7 separate regions of the Homo sapiens genome follow, and regions 2, 3, 4, 5, 6 and 7 are each linked to region 1. The links are contacts of gene promoters, found by promoter capture Hi-C in blood cells and fetal thymus (Javierre and others, 2016). All regions are on one chromosome and are shown on one strand. Each heading gives the region's core, a stretch centred on a gene start or on the middle of the fragment in contact. The rest is flanking DNA. Distances are from core to core; before and after follow the strand shown. Region 1 holds the start of PTPRB (protein tyrosine phosphatase receptor type B). Region 2 overlaps RAB3IP (RAB3A interacting protein). Region 3 overlaps MYRFL (myelin regulatory factor like). Region 4 overlaps MYRFL (myelin regulatory factor like). Region 5 overlaps MYRFL (myelin regulatory factor like). Region 6 overlaps MYRFL (myelin regulatory factor like). Region 7 overlaps MYRFL (myelin regulatory factor like).

The links. Contacts are between HindIII fragments. The CHiCAGO score rates a contact against its expected background, and 5 or more counts as called.
Region 2: a fragment that was not itself captured here is called in contact with the fragment with the promoter of PTPRB in region 1 in 5 of 17 cell types (M0 macrophages, naive B cells, non-activated CD4 T cells and 2 more); the score reaches 6.1 in M0 macrophages.
Region 3: a contact is called between a fragment that was not itself captured here and the fragment with the promoter of PTPRB in region 1, in 3 of 17 cell types (non-activated CD4 T cells, M1 macrophages and M2 macrophages). The highest score is 5.4, in non-activated CD4 T cells.
Region 4: a fragment that was not itself captured here is called in contact with the fragment with the promoter of PTPRB in region 1 in 4 of 17 cell types (total B cells, M2 macrophages, M1 macrophages and 1 more); the score reaches 6.1 in total B cells.
Region 5: a contact is called between a fragment that was not itself captured here and the fragment with the promoter of PTPRB in region 1, in 11 of 17 cell types (fetal thymus, total B cells, total CD8 T cells and 8 more). The highest score is 10.7, in fetal thymus.
Region 6: a fragment that was not itself captured here is called in contact with the fragment with the promoter of PTPRB in region 1 in 11 of 17 cell types (fetal thymus, activated CD4 T cells, naive CD4 T cells and 8 more); the score reaches 9.8 in fetal thymus.
Region 7: a contact is called between a fragment that was not itself captured here and the fragment with the promoter of PTPRB in region 1, in 4 of 17 cell types (total B cells, naive CD8 T cells, activated CD4 T cells and 1 more). The highest score is 9.9, in total B cells.

The regions. Positions count from the first base shown.
Region 1 is chr12:70,636,006-70,638,888 of GRCh38, reverse strand. It overlaps PTPRB (protein tyrosine phosphatase receptor type B), which reads left to right and starts at 1,460. Exons shown (of 34, transcript NM_001109754.4): 1 at 1,460-1,548; 2 at 2,823-2,883. The coding sequence starts at 1,494. PTPRR (protein tyrosine phosphatase receptor type R) reads left to right here. Exons shown (of 14, transcript NM_002849.4): 14 at 1-810. The HindIII fragment of the contact is 1,737 bases long and covers 679-2,415 here.
Region 2 is chr12:69,811,949-69,814,831 of GRCh38, reverse strand. It overlaps RAB3IP (RAB3A interacting protein), which reads right to left. Exons shown (of 11, transcript NM_022456.5): 9 at 1,955-2,054; 10 at 1,799-1,868. Among named protein-coding and RNA genes, the nearest start is that of MYRFL, 12 kb to the left of the region's middle. The HindIII fragment of the contact is 1,314 bases long and covers 612-1,925 here.
Region 3 is chr12:69,831,405-69,834,287 of GRCh38, reverse strand. The region is part of intron 1 of MYRFL (myelin regulatory factor like); the gene reads right to left. Among named protein-coding and RNA genes, the nearest start is that of MYRFL, 7.6 kb to the right of the region's middle. The HindIII fragment of the contact is 5,618 bases long and covers 1-2,883 here.
Region 4 is chr12:69,868,323-69,871,205 of GRCh38, reverse strand. The region is part of intron 2 of MYRFL (myelin regulatory factor like); the gene reads right to left. Among named protein-coding and RNA genes, the nearest start is that of MYRFL, 45 kb to the right of the region's middle. The HindIII fragment of the contact is 7,246 bases long and covers 1-2,883 here.
Region 5 is chr12:69,886,143-69,889,025 of GRCh38, reverse strand. MYRFL (myelin regulatory factor like) reads right to left here. Exons shown (of 25, transcript NM_182530.3): 6 at 2,056-2,206. Among named protein-coding and RNA genes, the nearest start is that of MYRFL, 62 kb to the right of the region's middle. The HindIII fragment of the contact is 206 bases long and covers 1,319-1,524 here.
Region 6 is chr12:69,903,122-69,906,004 of GRCh38, reverse strand. MYRFL (myelin regulatory factor like) reads right to left here. Exons shown (of 25, transcript NM_182530.3): 11 at 2,161-2,361. Among named protein-coding and RNA genes, the nearest start is that of MYRFL, 79 kb to the right of the region's middle. The HindIII fragment of the contact is 157 bases long and covers 1,343-1,499 here.
Region 7 is chr12:69,922,862-69,925,744 of GRCh38, reverse strand. The region is part of intron 13 of MYRFL (myelin regulatory factor like); the gene reads right to left. Among named protein-coding and RNA genes, the nearest start is that of MYRFL, 99 kb to the right of the region's middle. The HindIII fragment of the contact is 1,180 bases long and covers 908-2,087 here.

The DNA of each region.
Region 1 (2,883 bases), core at 211-2,710:
ACACAGAATGTATGTATGTAATATTCAGTAATAAATGTCATCAGGTGATGACTGGATGAGCTGCTGAAGACATTCGTATTATGTGTTAGATGCTTTAATGTTTGCAAAATCTGTCTTGTGAATGGACTGTCAGCTGTTAAACTGTTCCTGTTTTGAAGTGCTATTACCTTTCTCAGTTACCAGAATCTTGCTGCTAAAGTTGCAAGTGATTGATAATGGATTTTTAACAGAGAAGTCTTTGTTTTTGAAAAACAAAAATCAAAAACAGTAACTATTTTATATGGAAATGTGTCTTGATAATATTACCTATTAAATGTGTATTTATAGTCCCTCCTATCAAACAATTACAGAGCACAATGATTGTCATTGGGTATATATGTATTTACTCTCTATTATTGGGCATAAAGGTGGCTTCTGCTCCAGAACTCTATCCACTGTATTTCCACATCGTGAGTCATTTTACTTTAAAAGGGAAAAACAAATTTGTAGCAACTCTGAAGTATCAAGAGTTTTAACTACTTGTCTCTCTTTTGCTAAGAAGGGATTTTTGAATATGCTATCTACCTGGAATCTCTCTCTCAACAAAAGGTATATGCCTTCAGGAATGATATAATCTGTCCCATTTTCGAGGCTCCTTATAAGGACATTTCCATGTATGTCCTTACATTTCTGAAAGCTTTCAATCTTCAAGAGACAAAAAAAATTAAAATAACTACCCTCAGCAAACACTAGCTGTTCTGCTCATATATGAATTTTTAATGCAGCAATGTTGACTTTGTTTCATACTGCCAATAAACTCTTAATACTAAATACTGAGTAAAGCATATTCTTTTTTTTTTTTCTATTTGGAAAGACGCCATCCTCTGTTTGGGGAAGACCAAAGTAGATAATGTGATGGGTTTAATTTTAGTGTCTGCATCTCCCCAGTGAAGATGACGATCTCAAAATGTAATATTGTCATCACTTGGGAGATAATGATCTAGAAGTGCCATCATTATGTGGTTTTCCTCAATAGACTCGCAGCATATCATTATACAAACAGTACATGTTTATGTCTTTATATCACTTGTCATAGACCCTCATCAATTACATGGCTTATGTTTATTCAGCAGAATCACATCACCTGAAGAGATGTAATGTTTCAGGAACATTCAATTATCTGAGATTTCAATTCCTTTCTTTCTTCTTGAGGTTAAGAAGCAGTCACATGCCAAAGGAAAGGTAGGTGAGGTCTTAACGAGATTTACTCTGCTCTTGAAGGCTGGAATATTTTCTACATTAAAAAAAAGAGGTAATCATAATCCCTTCTTTCTAAGGAAACAGACAAAAGGACACTGGTGTAAAACTTCCCCAAACAATTCAATAGGAGGAAGTGCTCGTCACTGACTTTTCCCCCCACCATGAAGGCACATTTCCTTCCTAGTCTTTGCTTCTCTTATCTGGGAGAATTTTTTTTTTCCCCAAGCGAAGCATGAACAGTTGCTAAGTGGAAAATGGAGGCTGAATTTTACATGGTGATTCTTACCTGCTTGATCTTCAGGAACTCAGGTGAGTGGGTCTGCCTCAGTGTCCTGAGGCATTTCTTCAAGATCTAGCCAAGGAGTCCCTGGTCTTTGAAGTGTCTGAAATAAGGTAGAAGGGGCCAGGTCTCCATGGCAGTTTAGCCAAAGACGATGAAAAGCAGGAATAAAAGGAGCCAGCTATGCCCATACTGTTGAGATTTCTCTCCAAAAGAAAATAAATGCTCTCCTCTCATCCTCCAAATGCTTCAGGCAGCCCCTGAAATGATACATTTAGAGCAGAGCGTAAAGAACCCCGAGGAAAAGTTTGTATTATTATATAACAGTCTGTGGCTTTCCCCAAGCCTTTTTCCGACCCGGTTATAGTTTTATTTTCTTTTGTGTTGAAGAAAGAAAATTGAAGGAATATGATTAAAGGGGGTGAGGAAATGTAGTGTGTTTTATTTGGAAGTTGTCATTTGGGAGGGCTGAACATTTTCATGAGCGAGCTGGGCAATTTAAGTAAAACCTCATTGAAAATGGTTTCTGAGCCAGAGTATCTTGCTCTTTAATACTGATGTTTAGCAATTTGATGTTTAATTTTCTTACACTGGCACATGATGATTTTTAGAAAATCTATTCGTATTTGAGAGAAAACTGTAGATATTGTCATAAAATAGAGAAATGCTCCTCTCCACGACTAAAGGAAATTTAGTTTGTGATAATCAATACTTTCATTGGCTGCAATTAGCTAGGAGGTTGTGCTTGGAGAAGTGGGAAAATTTGTTTTATTTTTTGATAAATGTATGCAATTTTAAAAAATTGTTATTCAAACTATGAAATTTGTATATAAATACTGCAATGTGAATTTAAAGACTGGAAAAGGGGGTGCTTTTTTAAGGTAAGGGAGGAAGCTTATATCGAATATGTCAAATGGTTAAAAAGGGAGCTGAGCATTTCATAACTTCAGCATATCTAACTAATTGGGCTAAAATATACTATATACTTTGGATGGTTTTGTTTCTTTCCAAGCTTCCTTTCATTTTCCAATAAGAGGTGTGCTTTTTTCCCCTAAAGCATGTGAAAATTAAAAAAAAAAAAAAGATGGGGAGTTAAGTGTAACATATTGACATTTTATATCGTCAGCTTTGGAATTTTAAATCACATGTGTTAAATATGAGAATGTTCACTTGAAATGATAGAAATAACAAAATATAAGTAAAACTAGTGATTTTATTTAGCTCATTTGTGGGTGGGTTCTTCCGTTTTCTAATGGGCCTCATAATTTGCTACATAGTGCTTTATGAGCTTTTCATCTTCCAGAAGGGTTTCAGATTGTCCATGTCCAGAAACAACAGTGTCTTTTCAAAAATGAGAAAGTGGT
Region 2 (2,883 bases), core at 19-2,518, 820 kb after region 1:
AAATTCAATTACCTATACTTTTGTAAGTTCCCACTGTAAGTGGAAAAACGTTGGCTCCTTATTTCAGACAATAAAAGGTCTTCGTTTGATATATGATCAGATTATATTCATTTAGATCAATGGTTCTCAATCAGGGAAGATTCCACCACTACCACCACCACCACTCCTCATTCCCTGGCCACTCCAGGGTACGTTTGGCAATGAATAGAAACATTTTTCACTGTCCCATCTCGGGGGTGCTACAGGTATCTAATGAGTAAAAGCTAGGGATGCTATTAAACATCTTACAAATGCACAAGACCGTCCCCCACAACAAAGAATTATCCAGCTCAAAATGTCACTAGTACCAAGGTCGAGAAATTCTGCTTTAGATTTAGCTGCCCTAAATCCTTTGTTGGCACAAGGCACATATAATAAACAGATTTTAAGACTAATACCTGTTTACAACAAACACACATACTAAATGATATGTACTAAATATCATAAAGTGGAAGAGTGACAGAAACCAGAGAAGATATACTACTTTTATTATCAACACCCTCACCATTCATTACTCGTAACACTTTCTTCCTATTTTCATAAAGTAAATTATCTTTCTGTCTTTCCAAGCTTCTTATTTAAACAAACAGAAAAATATTATATTCTTGGCAATTATACTTAACATAAATTTTCTGTTCTCTGGCTTAAATTATATTATCCATCAACAGGTATTCAAAAAGAATTCAGTTTTATTAAAGTCAAAAAAAGTATTACACAGTTTAAAGACTGTTTTTATGTTATTAGGCCTTTTGAAATTCAACATTAATTAGGTTATCAGGTTATTAGGTTAACAGGTTTTATCTCTAATGTTTTAGGCATTAAAATCCAACTATATGGGATTTTAAAGAAATATGACATTTTTCAACATACCAGACCTTGAGAAAGGCTAAACTAAGTTTTTATCAGCGTGACTAACTTCTCCATAGAATTAAGATTCACTGCTTTACATGATTGAAAGATGGTAGGCTTCTACCAGTGTTTAAGCAAGATAATATTTTCAGTGCCTAAAAAATATAAACAGGGAAATTTTGTAAAACTTTAAATACTAACTGGCACAGACTTGTCCCTAGCCTAGTATCTGCTATTTTTTTTTTTAAACTATCATTTGTGCTCGAGAGATACTGCTTTGGAGCTGTCAGGCCATATTAGTTTTCATGCCTGATATTTAAGATATTTAGCTATAAAATTGTATTAAAAATATTAACACACTTTCATGAGGTTGGTTCTCCTGGATATATCACCTGCACATTTCTGCTGATTTAGAATATGGCAATCTTTATTCCATTCAGAATTATCCTCATGACTGCTTTATTAATTCACACGCAAAAAGTAGAAAATACAGGGAAAACTTAATTTTGAGCTCCATGATGGTTTCCATCAATTAAAATAAATCTGACCACTTTGCTGGCCTACTCATTTTCATCTCTTAAAGAGTCAATTCAATGAGCTTAGAACTCTCTTCTCATTTACCATCTGGTTTATCATATACCCCTTATGAGTTAAAACTGACCCTGCTTAAAATTCAAAATTAAGAGTAAAATGAGGCAAATAAAATAATTAAACACAATATTTTTCTAAAAGACATTTGTTCCCAAATTCTCCACAAATTTTATTAGAACTATAGAAGGGATTCAATATAAATGTACCAACAATAAAGCTGATATGAGCATTACTACTATTCTATACTTTTTGTTGAACTTTACTTATACTTTTTGCTGAACTTTTATGTAAAGACTTATATTGAATCAAGAACACTCACCATCCTGCTGTTTCACGAGTCCCTGCTGAATGTATCGAATGTATGTAAAAAAGTTACATACAGAAGTGATCTAGGCCAAATGGAGAAAATGTCATGAATGGTCAAATGTCCCATATCAAAGCAAGCTTTATTAAAATTCATGGTTAAGTCACTTACCCTGTATCTGCAAAAAGGAGAAATATAATAATAGTTGCTTGAGTCCCCTAATTTAATTCTGTGTTTACAGGACTTACTCTGGCCAGTGAGAGCACATTTTCTGTGAAATAATGATAAATTTCAGTTTTTTGAAATGAAAAGCATTTGCCCCTACCTTCTGTACAAGTTGCCTATTCATTCAGTTAGATAACAAATATTTGAGAACCTACTGTGTACCAGGCACCGTTCTAGATGCTGGGCTAAAGTGATGAAAAGGACAAAGTCTCTGCCCTTGTGAGACTTACATTCTATTAGTAGTATAAGTTTAATGCCATAACATTAACCATGATTCTAGAAACAGAAACTAGGTGTTTTCCATGTATGTCCCATCTTGGAACAAATTTACAAATCAGTAATCAGCTGCAGGACAGCTCTCAGCTTTCCATCAGGATTTCAGCTTCTCAGCTGAAAATATCCTCATGATGACTGTTCAAGTCTCAAAGCATGTTATTGATAGCTTGCAGGGTAATAGTTTCCAGATGGGGTATTTGTTTATTTGGTTGGTTGGTTGCTCTATATGCATTTAATGTGGGACCTAGGGAGAAGTACAAAGGAATAAGCCACCTTATAAAAATACTGAATCTTAACAATCATGTAACAAGTTCACTGAATTTCACATGATCCTTTCTATTTGCATATGACAAAAGCTAAAATTTTATATGAGGGCTTTCTGGCTGGGATTAGGCTATCAACCTCTTGAGGGCAGGGACTTTGATTCATCTTTAAATGCCTGGCACACAGCACACATTCAATGACTGCTGAATAAGTAATGAGCCATCTGTTACCCTATGGCTCCATGAGATAAAGCTAGCATGTCTATCAGGCCGGACTTGCAGCAGCCCAGCTGTCACCCTAAGCTAGGAACCTGGCTCAATACAACTATCACTCCC
Region 3 (2,883 bases), core at 181-2,680, 800 kb after region 1:
TTCAGAACACATTACTTCTTATTGCCATATATGACATTTGTTTCTTATATTGTTAATACCAGGGTATCAACCACTGGGGTCCCATCTTGCTGGACTTTTTGTCCTGAGTCAGATTACCCAAAATTACAAGATTAAGAGTTAATATTTATACTGCACTTCTGAGCATAGCCTGCTGCCTAACTTTCCTCTGTATATTTTTGTTATGCACAGAGCAGGACTAAAGAACAGTGATGGTGTTCTGATATCTTTGTACTCTTATTAGTGGACTTACATTATGAGTTTCTGGAGCTGCCTGCTCAATGAACATAAACCATTACCTTTTTACCACTAACACCTCATCTTATTGTGCTAGAGCTGGGATTTTCTAAGGAATAATGGCAGATGGCAGTAAAGTGCCAACTGCTAGCAGTCCGGAATAATTTTACATGCAAATTGTACCGAAAAAAAAAAAAAAAAAAAGCAAGCCCTATCTTCTGCTTCACAGGAGACATGAGTTCTACAACTATCTCTATAGATGTTCCCTGTGACCTGATTAGAAGACAATGTGCACAGTGGATAGGGACACAAGCCTTCAGAGCCAGACAGACTTCTGTCCAAATCTAAGCACTTCACATACCTAATAGCTGTGCTACCTTGGGCAAAGTACATACCTTCTCTGAATCTGTTTCCTCCTCTCTAAAATACTGACAACATTATCATTCATTGTGTTGTGCAAATTAAGAATTAATATAAAGTCTTAGTACAATATCCAACATAAAGTAAAGCATTCATTAAATGGCAGTGGTTTTCCTTCATTAAATGATAGTGGTTTTCTTACTGATCACAGGCTGCTGTCTTCGACCCACTGACTGGACATCCTTCCCCACTGCACGAAATCCTTTTTTCAAGGTCACATACAACCTTCTTTTCCCCAGATTCTATAGGCAATTGTCTTGTATTTCAGAAACATTTGAAACGTTTAACCATATTCTTCTTGAAACACTTTCTTTCCTAGTTTAACAACCACACTCTTCTGGTTTCCCTCCTACCTCACTAAACATTCCTTTACTAGTTACTTTCACTTGGATCCCAAAATGTGATCTGGGACCCTTTTCTCTATCTGTACTCTTCTTGGTGATCTCACTTAGTCTCAGGGGCTTTAAACTGATGACTCTTTAAGCTGATGATTCCCAAATTGACAACAGCAGCTCTAATCCTTCCTTGGGTTTCAAATTCAATAATCCAACTGCCTCCTCATCGCTTCCACTTGGTTGTCTAAAAGAGATCTCAAACGTAAAATGTCCCAAATGAATTCTTAATTACACACACACACACACACACACACACACACACACACACACACAAGCCTGTTCCTCAGTCTTCGACATCTAAGTACATTGTACTACCATCCATGAATTGTTGACACCAACACCTAGGCATCATCCTAAACAGATTCCTCTGTCTTCCTCACACCCACGTCCCACCCATCTGCCCCTGCCTGTTCTCCTGCTTAAAACTCTCCACACTGAGAATAAAAATCCAAACTCTAATGTCATTTTCTACCACCCTCCCCATTGTCACTCACACTTCAAGCGCTTCCACCTCACTGTTCCTTTCCTACCCCTCTCCCAACCACTTCAAGCTCAGTGACGGCACAGTTGCTCTTTTTACCTAAAATGTTCTTCTCCCAGACAGATGCATGACTTGCTTCTGGTCATTCTTCAGGTCTCAGCTTGAATGTCATCCCCTCAGAAACCATTCCTGATTGTCTTAGCTCAAGTAACTCTCTCTTCATCAGACTCTCTGCACCACCATCCGGTTTTATTTTCTTCATAATTAATGACATTTTGAAATCATTGTTTTATTTATCTCCTATCGTCTTCTCCCTTCATCTAGAGAAGAAGCCACTATAAGGCAAGGATTCTGCTAATTCATCACAGAGTCCCTGGCTCTTAGGAGAGCAGCAGGCTCATGAGAGACAGTCAAATATTTTTTGATTGTGTGAAAGTTGATCACACAAATTAGGTCATTCTTGTCATAGCCAACTAAAACAGAGTCATGAGGCCAGGGGGAGAAAGCACTCAGGGCATATAACATTGCTCAAAAAATGTAATTCTCTACAAGCCTGGATGCTGAAACTGCTTGCTATATAAACTTAGACCAGTTTTATATCTAATCGTTGCTGAAACAACCTGCTACAACTTTTAATACTAGTTTTACCCACCACTGTCACTCACCAACCAAAACTTGCCAGCTCCCTAAACTTTAATAGTGCCAATTAATTTCCTCAAAGAACAAGACATAACATTTCTCCTTTCTATAAAACCTCCAGCCTCCTCTTTATTCTTCAAGCATACCAAAGACAACCTAGCCTGCCTGTATGCTCCAAATTGCAATTCTTTCTTCCCAAATAAAACATTAAATTTAGAGATTCATCTCTACATTTTTATTTTGACTTTGACAACTGACTGAATAAACAAGGTAAGGAATAAATGACCTTGCAGCCACTTACTATGTGGATAACCCGCAAGCAAGTTACCTAACCTCTGTCAGCCTCATGTTTCTCATACAAGGATAGAAATCCCCCAGGGCTGCCTTGATGCTAAACGGAGAAAATAATAATTAAGAAACAATGAGAATACTAGGAACTAAAAATTACTGTCTCTCTGTGCCAGGCATAGTGCTTCACAACATTTTGAGATAATAGGGTTATCCCCATTTTACAAGCAAGGAAATTAAGGCCTGCAGAGCCTTATGAACCTATCCATAGTCCCACAGGTAGTCAGTGGCAGAGCTAGGAATCACAGCCAGGATGACTAACTCAGAACCCATGTTCCTAAGGATGATTCTGCACTCAGCACATAGTAAGTGCTTGACAACAGTTATTATGATTATTAGTTAGGT
Region 4 (2,883 bases), core at 220-2,719, 770 kb after region 1:
GGCTGCCTCTGGGGGAGCCAATTTAAAGACAGGGGTAGAGCAGGGGGATTGCTGGTAATCTCCTATTATATGCTATATACAGTATCATTTGACTTCTTAAATTCTTCACATGTATCACTCTAGGTCTATAAATTAAATTTTGTAACTGACTCTGTGATCTCATAATTCCACATTTAAGGCTCTAGGCAGTTGTTTAGTTACCCTGACACTACAGGCATCATTGAATTCAATAATGTAATAAAAACTGAAAATCACAATTAAATGATCAATCTACTAAAAAAAATATGGCTTGGCATATTGTAAACAGGAATGCAGTCTCCATCCAGCAGTCCCTTAACGAGAACCAAAAGTCCCTGCGTTGAGTGACAGGAATATGTGTTGGTGGTTTTAAGATGAAGATTTTAAAATATTAAATGCTGTCTTTAGAGTTCCTTCCCCTTCCAAAATTCACCACAGCTACTCCTTTATTTCATTGTATTTTATATGCTTCCATGCTCAATGCATTTAAATACAGTTAGAGAAATTTTGCACTTCTTTTCAGAGAATTTGAAGGGAGAATTAATGATAGCTACCTTCAAACTGACCAAATTGTTAAAACAAGAGCAATGATTAGCTCCTAGTAAAACACTTGTTTGGTATTTTTTCTTCACTTCTTAGCCCCTTTTACTCACAATCGTCATGTCAAGAATCCCAGAAATGCACATCAGACTGTGTTTCAGTCTTTGTGCGCCAAACTTGTCTATTATACCAAAAGGATTTCCATAAAGCAGACAAACACCAGAGAGCAACAGACACTATGGGTCATACCCTGAGCGGCCAACCCTGTCTCTAGCTTCAGCAGGAAAGAGTTGTAAAAATCAAGAGATTCGGGAGGCCGAGGCGGGTGGATCACCTGAGGTCAGGAGTTTAAGACCAGCCTGGCCAACATGGCAAAACCCTGTCTTCACTAAAGATACCAAAAAAAAAAAAAAAAAAAAATTAGCCAGACGTGCTTGCTTGAACCCAGGAGGCAGAGGTTGCAGTGAGCCGAGATCTCAACACTGCCCTCCAGCCTGGGCAACAGAGTGAGACTCTGTCCCAAAAAAAAAAAAAAAAAAAAAAAAAAAGGAAGAAAAATCAAGAGATTCTTAGCAGCTGATAAAAATAAAATAATTTGCCTTCTAAACTCCTTCCTCTCAGACATACAACTTGTTTTTTGTCTTTTGGAGGATGAACGGAGAAACAATCTCCCAGGGGTTGAATCTATGTGAACCAAAAGAGGGCGTACAAAATAGACTTTGCCCTCCAGCTAGTTGAGGTGATATGTACATCCATGACATATATGCTGCCCTCAATGCAGCCAGTATTTCTTTCATATTGCAACCAGGCTTACTAAGTCTTTACTGAGTGCCTACTGTGCTCATGACTCTACCAGACATTAGGCAAGACACATACACAGTGTGTCTTCATGTGAATATCTAGGTGGGATACTCACAATTGAGCCATCCAATCCTAGTTTTCTCCAATGAATCCCTCGGTGCCTTCATACAACACCAACCGCCCCTTCTCTAAAGCTCTATTGCACCTCACACTGAGCTCGGCTCAGCACAGTGCCCAATACAGAGTTGGTGCATAACAAATACGAAAGACTGTGTTAAACTACATATGACCATGAATATGCCGTATATATAAATCCATATATCAGGAGAGAGCTTTCCTGACCACCCAATCTAAAATGGTAGCCTCTCCTCCTTGCCTTACTCTTATTTGTCTTCATCTTACTGAGTGACTTTAGACTACCTGCCATTGTCTTTTTCTTCCCACCGGAGTGGCATGACAGTAATGGTGTGCCAAGGATGAGGGGATGGGAATTGCTCACCCCAGGTGCAGGCAATAAGGAAATGCATTGTCTGTAGACAATTTGAAAACAATACTAAGCCTACAAAGAGTCAGTCTGCTTTTTATTATCACCATGCATCACCAATTCTAAGAAAAATGCCTGGGTGCCCTGCCAGGGCAGACTGTACCCACCACACTGCCCTTGGGGAGCTACTGGCAGGGATTATATCTGTTTTGTTCACTGTTTTACCCCATCCTCCAACTATAAAAATGGTTGTTATTTAAAGTATTTCCTCCAATTTTTCATGTATATGATTTATCTTTCCGCATGAACTTTCACATTAAGAATATGTCTTCCTACTCTGTGTGTGAGTGTATGTGTGTGCATGTGTGTGTGCATGTGTGAGTGCATGTGTGCACGCACATGTGGGCATGTGTGAGTGCATATCTGTGTGTACGTGTGAGTACATGTGTGTGTGCGCGTGTGCGTACGTGTGTGTGAGTGCATGTGTGTGCGCGTGTGTGTGCACATGTGTGCATGCTGTGCATGTGTGTGTACATGTGCACTCCATAGTGCTCCAATGGGGAGACTGTGACAGGCACTCAATAAATACTTGATCAAGGTCAGTTAGGGCTTGTAACCACCATCTAGAAGTTGATACAGGAAAGGGTTTTGGCAGAAATGTTGTCAATGAGTATGGTTGCCCAAGAAAACCATTTCATGATATGGCAGCAAAAAACAAGGCAAAGAAGATGCCACTCCTCCCCTCCAGCTCTGTGCTGGCAGACTGCAAGGATCTGACCCTTTCACACCCCTCCGCTGCTGCTTTAGATGTAGAGAAACTTTTTTGAGAACCTACTCTGAGCCAGGCACCATGCTAACCCTTTGCATGTGTGTCTCATTTAACCTCCACAACTCTCATATGAAAAGGTACCATCATTGTACTTAATCCTCAGGCAATGAAACTGAGGTTTGGTCTGGCGCGGTGGCTCATGCCCGTAATCCCAGCACTTTGGGAGGCCGAGGCGGGTGGATCACAAGGTCAGGAGTTTGAGACCAGCCTG
Region 5 (2,883 bases), core at 172-2,671, 750 kb after region 1:
TGCACCTTCCCAATGGATCAAGTTACTGAGTCATTGACTACCCTTAAGAAGCCAATCAGTCAAAGGCTCCACAATCACAGTGCCTACCAGCAGCAAAAAGAAAATCCACTGAATGAAGAATTTGATAAAGACTACACATCTTATGCCATCTGGAAACTGCTTATTGACTCAAGTTTCTAGAATTAATCTGCTAATTTGTTCATCTAAAGGCTAGATGGGTAGAATTATGTAGATTTTACTACAGAGGGTAATAAGAACCGTCTTAGTTGAGAATAAAACATTTTTGGTGATGTTTTATGCTTCACTGTCAAAAACTCTGAAGAAAAAAAGTACAGCTAAGATATGAGCGTTAGGCTGAAATTTAGGGCAGCAATAATCAGAAACGGAATCAATCAGTAAGAGTTATACTGTTGATGATTATTCTGAACCTTAAACACCAATCTCTGATTATAGAAATCTGCTTACCTAAGAATGGCGATTCTGCTTCTGATATCAAAAGTTAAGTATAAAGTCAATTAAACTGGCTTTTTAAAAGTTCTTTGATAGCATTGAAACATAATTCAGAAAAAAATTGATAAAATTTTAATGCCCTAACTGAACTGTTTTTAGGTTACTTAAGAAAATGATATTTTTGTAACAAATTAGACCTAACTATATAAGAAAAGATGGGTGTTTTTCTGTCTCATTGATATAAATAGTGAAATTAGGAGGGCCTGAATTCTAAACTGGGTAAATATTGCCTTCCTTTTTTGCTTAGGAAAAGTGAATTATGGCTAAATACTCAACATAAATCTGCCTCATTACTTTTGAGTTGATACCATCTGTGTTCTCCTTTGTTTCCATATACTCTGTGTTCTCCATATTTTTCTAGATTATTGGAGCCAAGATAGGCTGTTCAAACAAACTTAAAAATGTTTTCAAATAAGAAGAGGGATAACACTTACCTTGAAAACTTGATCAACTTGATGCATAGAGCCTGGGAAGCAGTTAAGTTTTAATTAAAGCATTGAGCCTGCGTGTGACAGTTTCATACCTCGGTGCTCATATTTCTTACAAAACATGGAATGTTCCCCAAAAGATAATCTAAGGAAGGCCAAGCCTCAAAGCCAAAACCCATGGACCCCTCATTTCTTTTTCTAATTGCACACAGTAGAAAAGACACAAAGTCATGACATTTCAATGATACAATGAGCAATGAGCTTCCTTTAGCTTATTAAACACACCAACTCCCAAAGTCTGTTTAACTCCCTAGATTTTCTTTTAAGGAAAATATTTCTTCCCTCTAGTACATCCACCATGAAAGTCCTAGTGATAAGCTTTACAGTATTTGAATTTGGAAAATTTTAAAATTTGAATTTGGAAAATTTTAACTTAAGTTATAGCCCAATGAAAATTCTAGAAGGCTTAAGTAGGTAAATTACATGCTAAGAAATAAAGAAGTCTAAAGGATGTTTAAGAGTAATAATATAGGATTGCACATTTATTTCTTGAAACTATCTTATGTCATAAAAATTGGGTGAAGCTTTTCCACTTTTTTAGGATGTTTTGTATGATTTGACTTCAGACTCCTTAACATAAAGAAACCATCTACCACGATTGCTGCAGGATATATTGTCAGTGAACTTGGTAATATTCATTCACAGCATATACGTGGGGGGTGGTCATTGGCTCACAATTTAATGTGGCCCCCAGAAAAGTATTTTATGGCATTATAAGTTAACTGCAGGATTAAGTGTTAGTGATTTGGGGAATGTTTATATTCCAGTTTTTAGTTTAAACTGGGCATGTGATCCCAGAAAGATTCCTTCTTTCTCCATCATTTAGTGGTTAAATTATAATCAGGTGGAACTATAAGTCTGGCTTTCTGAAGGCCAGAAACCCATATTCCAACTATTTATTTGTTAGGATGTAAAAAATGAGGAGTAAGACAGACACTTTCTCACTGATTTGCCCCACTTGACCAGAGGTGACATCAAAGCTCCAGTGCTTGAACTCAGTACTGAGATTTAGCACTGTCTTTCTCCCCTCACTCTCCAGCCCACTCAAGCCACTTACAGTTTTTCATAATGACTGTTTAATAAGCTGTGCCAAGGAACACTATGGCATGGTTGCCACTTCAGAGCAGGAGAGCACTGGTCTGTAGGCATTCTGTTCTGTCCCTCACTGTCAGGGTCCTGGACTTCACTGCTGCGACTCCTACTTGTCACTGCAAAGAAACAGGTGCGTCAGAGCCTTCCTTCCAGGCTGTTTTTCCTAAACTCACAGCTAGCAGCATGAAGCTGATGAGTGGGCCATGTGTAAGGCAGAGTGACTAGGGAAGTGTCATGTGCTGGGGGTAGGAGGTGTGTTGCTGACCTCATTTTCTCATCTGTGAAAGGAGCAGCCTGGGGTCAGCGTTGTCAAAGGGTGGGGGGTAAACACCTGTTGGAAACTTTGTCCCTGATATCTATCTACCCTACATCCTGCATAGCTTCTCCTCACTTTCAGTCTGTGTGGTTGCAGTGAAGTTCATTCCCAGAGCCGGGAGGATAGGTGACCCAGCTCAATCAACCAAAGTACAGCATTCAGTCCTTGCATCAGTAATTGCATCAGTGGTGGACATGTGGCCTATCCCAATTCAAGCAGAGTGGATCTCAGCACTTCAGGGATGCTCACTCTTCTCCATGAGGTTTGAACCTGCAAGATACATCGCCAACAGCTGCTGGCACCATTTTCGGACATGAGGGAAAAGCCCATCTGGGAATGATGCCAGCACAGCAGAAGGCAGAGTTAAAAATGAAGGGCACCAGTCCTCATGGTGTCATCTGAGTTCTGGGACCCAATTCTAAACCCTCGCGTTAACAGGAGCCAATAGTTCCCCTAATTTTGTTTTTTGCCTGTTTT
Region 6 (2,883 bases), core at 172-2,671, 730 kb after region 1:
AGTCCTATGCATGCCATCAAATTGACCAAGGGTCAGATCCCCAGAGTATATGAAAGAAAGGCTCTCTTTTTAAAAGTTGCAAAAACTAAGTCAGGAAGAGGTGAAGATGAAATTCACACATCTGTCATCAGCATCATCAACATTACCATCATCTCCCTCATCTCTGTAATAAACAGTGGACTGGGACAGACAAGATTTCTACAAATATATATCTCAAAAATGTGCACAGATTTATCAAAACAAATCTATTAATATGAAATCATTTAATAAATAAATTACATGTAATTTTTATTTTGTATAAATAGAAAATAATTTCTCTTTGCTTAGACTTGTCTGGCTAAAAAATACCTTACATATATGAGTTTAGAAAAATCTCTTAACCTGGGTAAAATGAATATGAGCATTTCCTGTTCACAGACAACAAAACAGAGTCACAGATCGCCTCTCGGCCAAAGTTCCTGGGCTGGTGGTTGCCAGAGTCAGGACTAAACTCTTAGACTTCTAACCACGGACCAGGATTTTCTTTATTCTATCATGCTGCCATGAGCAGGAAGGGGATACAGAAATTTCACATTTAGAGCCTGGATTGAAGTGACATTTCATTTAGATGGAGAAGGCTTTTTAGAAGGGATGTGAGAAGTTCTCCAGAAGCTTGTTATTTTAAGACAATATATTTTCTTCAAACCAACAAGCAATATTTGAAGACTTTTTGTAAATGAAGTTCTGTGTTATGCCTGGTGGTAGCAGGAAGGGTTGTACAGGACTTTTCTCACTTGTTATATTCAATTTACATTTTAGTAAGACTTGGTAGTGAATTGTATAGCCAATTGCAAGGATAAATTTGAGTTGGTGTGACCTGAAATGCAGACAGATGATCTCTCTCTAAAGTTCAAAGTCACAATATCTAGGACTGACATCTGGAAATGTATGTAAGAACTCTCTAGCTCTGCATTCCCATCTGGCTAGTAGGTCACAGCTCTTCTAATATGAACCGCAGCTTCACAATCAGTATAAAAGTCTACAATTACAACCATTCTTTGGAATCCTCTAAGCAAAGGAGGACATTCCTTGGCTGGTTTAGGAAAACCAGTGCAGATTTGCACTGAGAAAGGAATGCAGTCTGGAAGAGGGGCTAATAGTGAACAGATTAGGACTTCTATTAGCTAAAAAGGGATAAGGAAAGGAGAGAAAAGGAACTTTTAAAACACAGCTTCACAAATGCTGTCAAGAGAAGTAGTATGAGTGAGATGATGGGGAAGTGGTAGAAGCAATGCATGGGAAATAATTAAATGGCAGAAAAGTTGGAATGAGGTGTTAGTAGCTGGCTGATGGATTGGAAGCTTAATCCTCATCCTTATGGTCTACATAGCAGTTGTAGCTTTCCAAGATGATTCAGTTCAACTGGTTAAAAAATAAAAAAGAGCCAAGGGTGTCAGGCAGGCAGGCAGGCACCATTTTCATCTTATAGCTGAAGACACTGAGTTCAAGGAGATTAAGCTTTTTATCCAGGGTCACGTAACTGGGGAGAGCCCAAAGCGGAGAAGCCATCTCCTGACATCTAGGCCTGACTTCTGGTTTCCTCTAGGTAACTGCCTCTCCACGGAGGAAAAAGGTCTTCACCCGGAACTCTTGGCGATGAACTGACCAAGTAAGGGATGAGGAGGAGGAGCTTCTCAAGAGTTCCTAGAGAAAGACGATGCCTGGGGAAGATAATGGCCAGTAGAGTTGGTGCCAGGGACTCTAGAAGGAAGAGGCTGGAGACATCCAAGAGAAATATGATCAGGAACTGGACTGAGACAGTGCTTGGAAGATGAGTGGGGAGACAGAAAGGAAAAGGCAAGCTCTGGAAGCTGACAAAGTATGGAAGGAAGGGCAATGGCCTGTGGAAAATAACTGAGACTTGCTGCCTGTGAGGCCAATGACATGCTGTCTTTGCCCACTGCTCCTGTCAGGTAAATCCATTCTCTCAGGGAGGAACTGCTTTACAATTTCAGCAGAGATGCCCAGCAGCTCAGTCATCATTTTTAAGCAGTGTGTTCATCTCACACCAGTGGGTGACATGTAAAGATGTGCGGTTCAAGGTGTGTCAGAGGCCAGGAGCACCCAGCAAACCTGACTGGGGTGTCAGAGGAGGGGCCCAGGGCCTGAATCTGTGCTCACCTCCTGGATATTCTGCTTTGCCCGGCTGTCAGAGGGATGCATGATGGTCCCCATCACTTTCATGTTGCCACAGACAACCAGGGCTTCGTCCGGCGCATCTGTGTTGATTCCTACTCGACCGTGACAGACAATAGATTCTGGAACTTGTCCTCGCTGCCACAATGCATCACTGTCATTTTCAAACTGCCCAGGGTTAGAGGCCTGGAAAAATACATAAATATATTACAATTAAAGTAACAGTAGCAGGAATAGATGATCACATTAGTGTTCAGAGCAAAGGCAAACTGAATATTATCTAAGTCTTTCATAAGAGAATCCTGTATTGAGTGGGACATTCTGACATATCCAAGTAATTCCGGGGCCCAGGAGAGCCAGGGAGGCTTCCCTAACCACTCTGCCTCCCCGCTAGCAGGAGCTCTGTATACCCTGATTTGAAACATCCAATCTCTATTGCATCTATCTGGAATTAAGAATGTGATCAGTTATACTAGGTGGATGATAAAGAAGAAAACTAAAAATGGCTATCTTTCCAGGAATAGTCATCATCATCATGATTTAAAATCAGAACATTATATCAGAAAATATTACAGGTGTACTAAAGTCAGATAAATAAAAATACCTTGCATTTAGCTAGCCCTATTATAGTTTCAAAATGCTTTTATATTTATGATTTCATACACAAGTGACAAGCAAATGATAATACAAATATATTTAATATACATC
Region 7 (2,883 bases), core at 248-2,747, 710 kb after region 1:
ACACATCAGAAAAAGAAAGGGGAGACCAACCAAACCCAGAGAGTCCAGGCCATCCTCTTCCCCACCCACACACTTCAGTTGTCATATGAACACATATGCCCATTTCTCAGCCATAACAAAAAGCCTGGAAAGCTCTTATCAACTCACATTCCAACCCCATGACCTCTCCTCCTATCTTTCTCTCTGTTTGCAAGTTCAAAATCCCACAGCACTTTCTGAATTGCAGAGAGGCTGGTCCAAGGCTGAGTTCAAGGGCAATAGAGACTGTTTTGTGGTTGAGGGTCAAACTCAGGGCTATGTGCCTTTGAGATTCTTATCATCCAAACTGAAGCTTTGAGGGTTTCGAACACTGTAGAGCAATCACTCAGAAAGAATCAAAAGCTGAACATTCCAGATTCAAGGCTTAGTGTACGCAGTTCAAAGACAGATGTATCTCATGATACACTGGAGAACTCTCTGAAACTCCCAGAGCAGCCACACAGATCTGTTGAGGCCCCCTGAACACCCTGCACTCTCCAGTGTCTGAGACCTCATTCCCATAATTACCTAAGATAAAAATGCCTTTCCTCAAGGCCAGTCCAAATCCCATCATACCCAGTATCTCCCCAGAGACCACTAGTCAGAGAGCATCCCTCACTCTACAGTGTCCTCAAAGCATGTTCAATTCTATCACCTGGCCATTTGCCTTGTATCAGGTGTTATATGTCTGTCTCCCACCTGGATCATGAGTTTGTGGCAGGCAGAATTATGTTGATTTATTTGCATATCTCACCAGCATTTAGCACATGCCTTTGCCCACTGGAAATGCTCAGTAAGAATGGACACAAGTGAATTGAAAAGTGCTATGAGTTAGCAGCTTAGAGAAGCAGAAAACCTTTGTATTTGGGATGTAAAATGACCAAAAGCTTGATTTCTGAGGCCTATGTTTGCTTCAAGAAAACTTACCAAAAAAACACAAAAAATCCAACAACAAAAAAAATCATACTTGTATCAGCTTTTCAAATGTCATCAGAAAACCCTATATTTTTCCTGAAGTCTTACCATACATCCTTCAAAATCCATCCAAATAACAAATTGATAAAACCATCTGGAGTAGAATTTAGCAATATCTAGCAAAATTACATATATTTTTATTTTTGAGCCAGTACACCCACTTCTAGGAGTCTATTCCACAGATCTCCTGGAGAAAATTAAGAAATAAAAGAGACCACAATCAAACAAAATGTCCATTAATAGGGGAATTGATAATAAACTGTGGTACATTTGCATAGCAGTATACTATGCAACTGTAAAAAGAAAGGAAGAATATCTCTATATACTGTTATGGAGCAAAGTCTGTAGTATAAGAAGAATACAAAACATGTCTACATTTTCTTACATTAATAAAATGAAGAATAAACAAAAACTAACTTAAAATTGTTACACATAATGGAAAGGAAGAAACAAGATGGGTGAAATGGATAGAACCCAGATTCTCTGAATGTATCCTGTTTTTATAAATTAACCTTTAGAATATGTGGGTATTTTACGATTTTTTTTTTTTTTTTTTTTTTTCTGAGACGGAGTCCTGCTGTGTCACCCAGGCTGGAGTGCAGTGGCATGATCTCGGCTCACTGCAAGCTCTGCCTCCCGGGTTCACACCATTCTCTTGCCTCAGCCTCCTGAGTAGCTGGGACTACAGGTGCCCACCACCACGCCCGGCTAATTTTTTGTATTTTTAGTAGAGACGGGGTTTCACTGTGTTAGCCAGGATGGTCTTGATCTCCTGACCTCGTGATCCACCCTCCTTGGTATCCCAGAGTGCTGGGATTACAGGCATGAGCCACTGCGCCTGGCCCATATGTAGGTATTTTAAATATGTATAAAAAATAAACAAAATTTTTAAAAACATCCCCTAGAAACAGAAGGCAAAATAAAACAAATAAGCCTAATTGGGTATTGAGTTTCTGGTTTAACCTTACAGTGAAGATTGACATTAAGTGACTTCAAAACATAGTAATTTGACTGCCCATTCCCAGAGAGATAGAGCCTAAAGACAAAAAATAAAAATTTAAAAAAAAAATCAACCAGCAAGGGAATCTTAAGCTTTTCAATAATCATACTGTTAGTAATAATAGTGATGGATTATACACACATAGATAGCACACATATATATTTGGATAAAACAAATACATAGTTAATAGTGCTATAAACCAAGATTTTTAGCATTTAAGAAAAGAGATATAAACATAAAATTAAAACATTTAGTAAAACCCTAGCAAATCTAAATTTAAGTTAGAAATATTACTATTAATTTCTGATATATTTTATTTCTTAAAAGAAAAAGACATTTTCTAGCTACATTAACTAAAAAGGACTGGAAAAAAACTTCCCACCTACTAACCATGAAGACTCCTCATTGTAGTCTCTAAATACCATTCCCAGTGAAAGGACCCAGATTTTGAGTACTTTTCCAGATTTGGGGTAAGATATGTCTGAGGTGAACCTGGAACATCTTTCAATATGAGAAAATAAGGAAGCTATCACAGAGTACTGTGGTTGGGTCAAAATGACTCAGGAGCTAACTGAAGAAGCTCTCATTGGCCAAAGATAGAACATTAAAGGGCTAATTACCATGATAGAACAAAGAATCAAATGTGCTTTAAAAGCATCCAAAATCCTATTCAATTTTTAAAAATAGTTTATTATTTACCTTTGGGAGACATTAAGGGCTTAACTCATTTTTTTTAAATCTTGTAAATAAAAGAATAAAACTTTGTCCTGCCTGTCCTATATAACATCTACATATTTGAAAGTTCATTTAAAAAGTATTCCAGATAATAAATTCCAGAGAATAAATGAAGAAGAAATGATAGAGTATCACTGTTTTCCAACACCTAATGA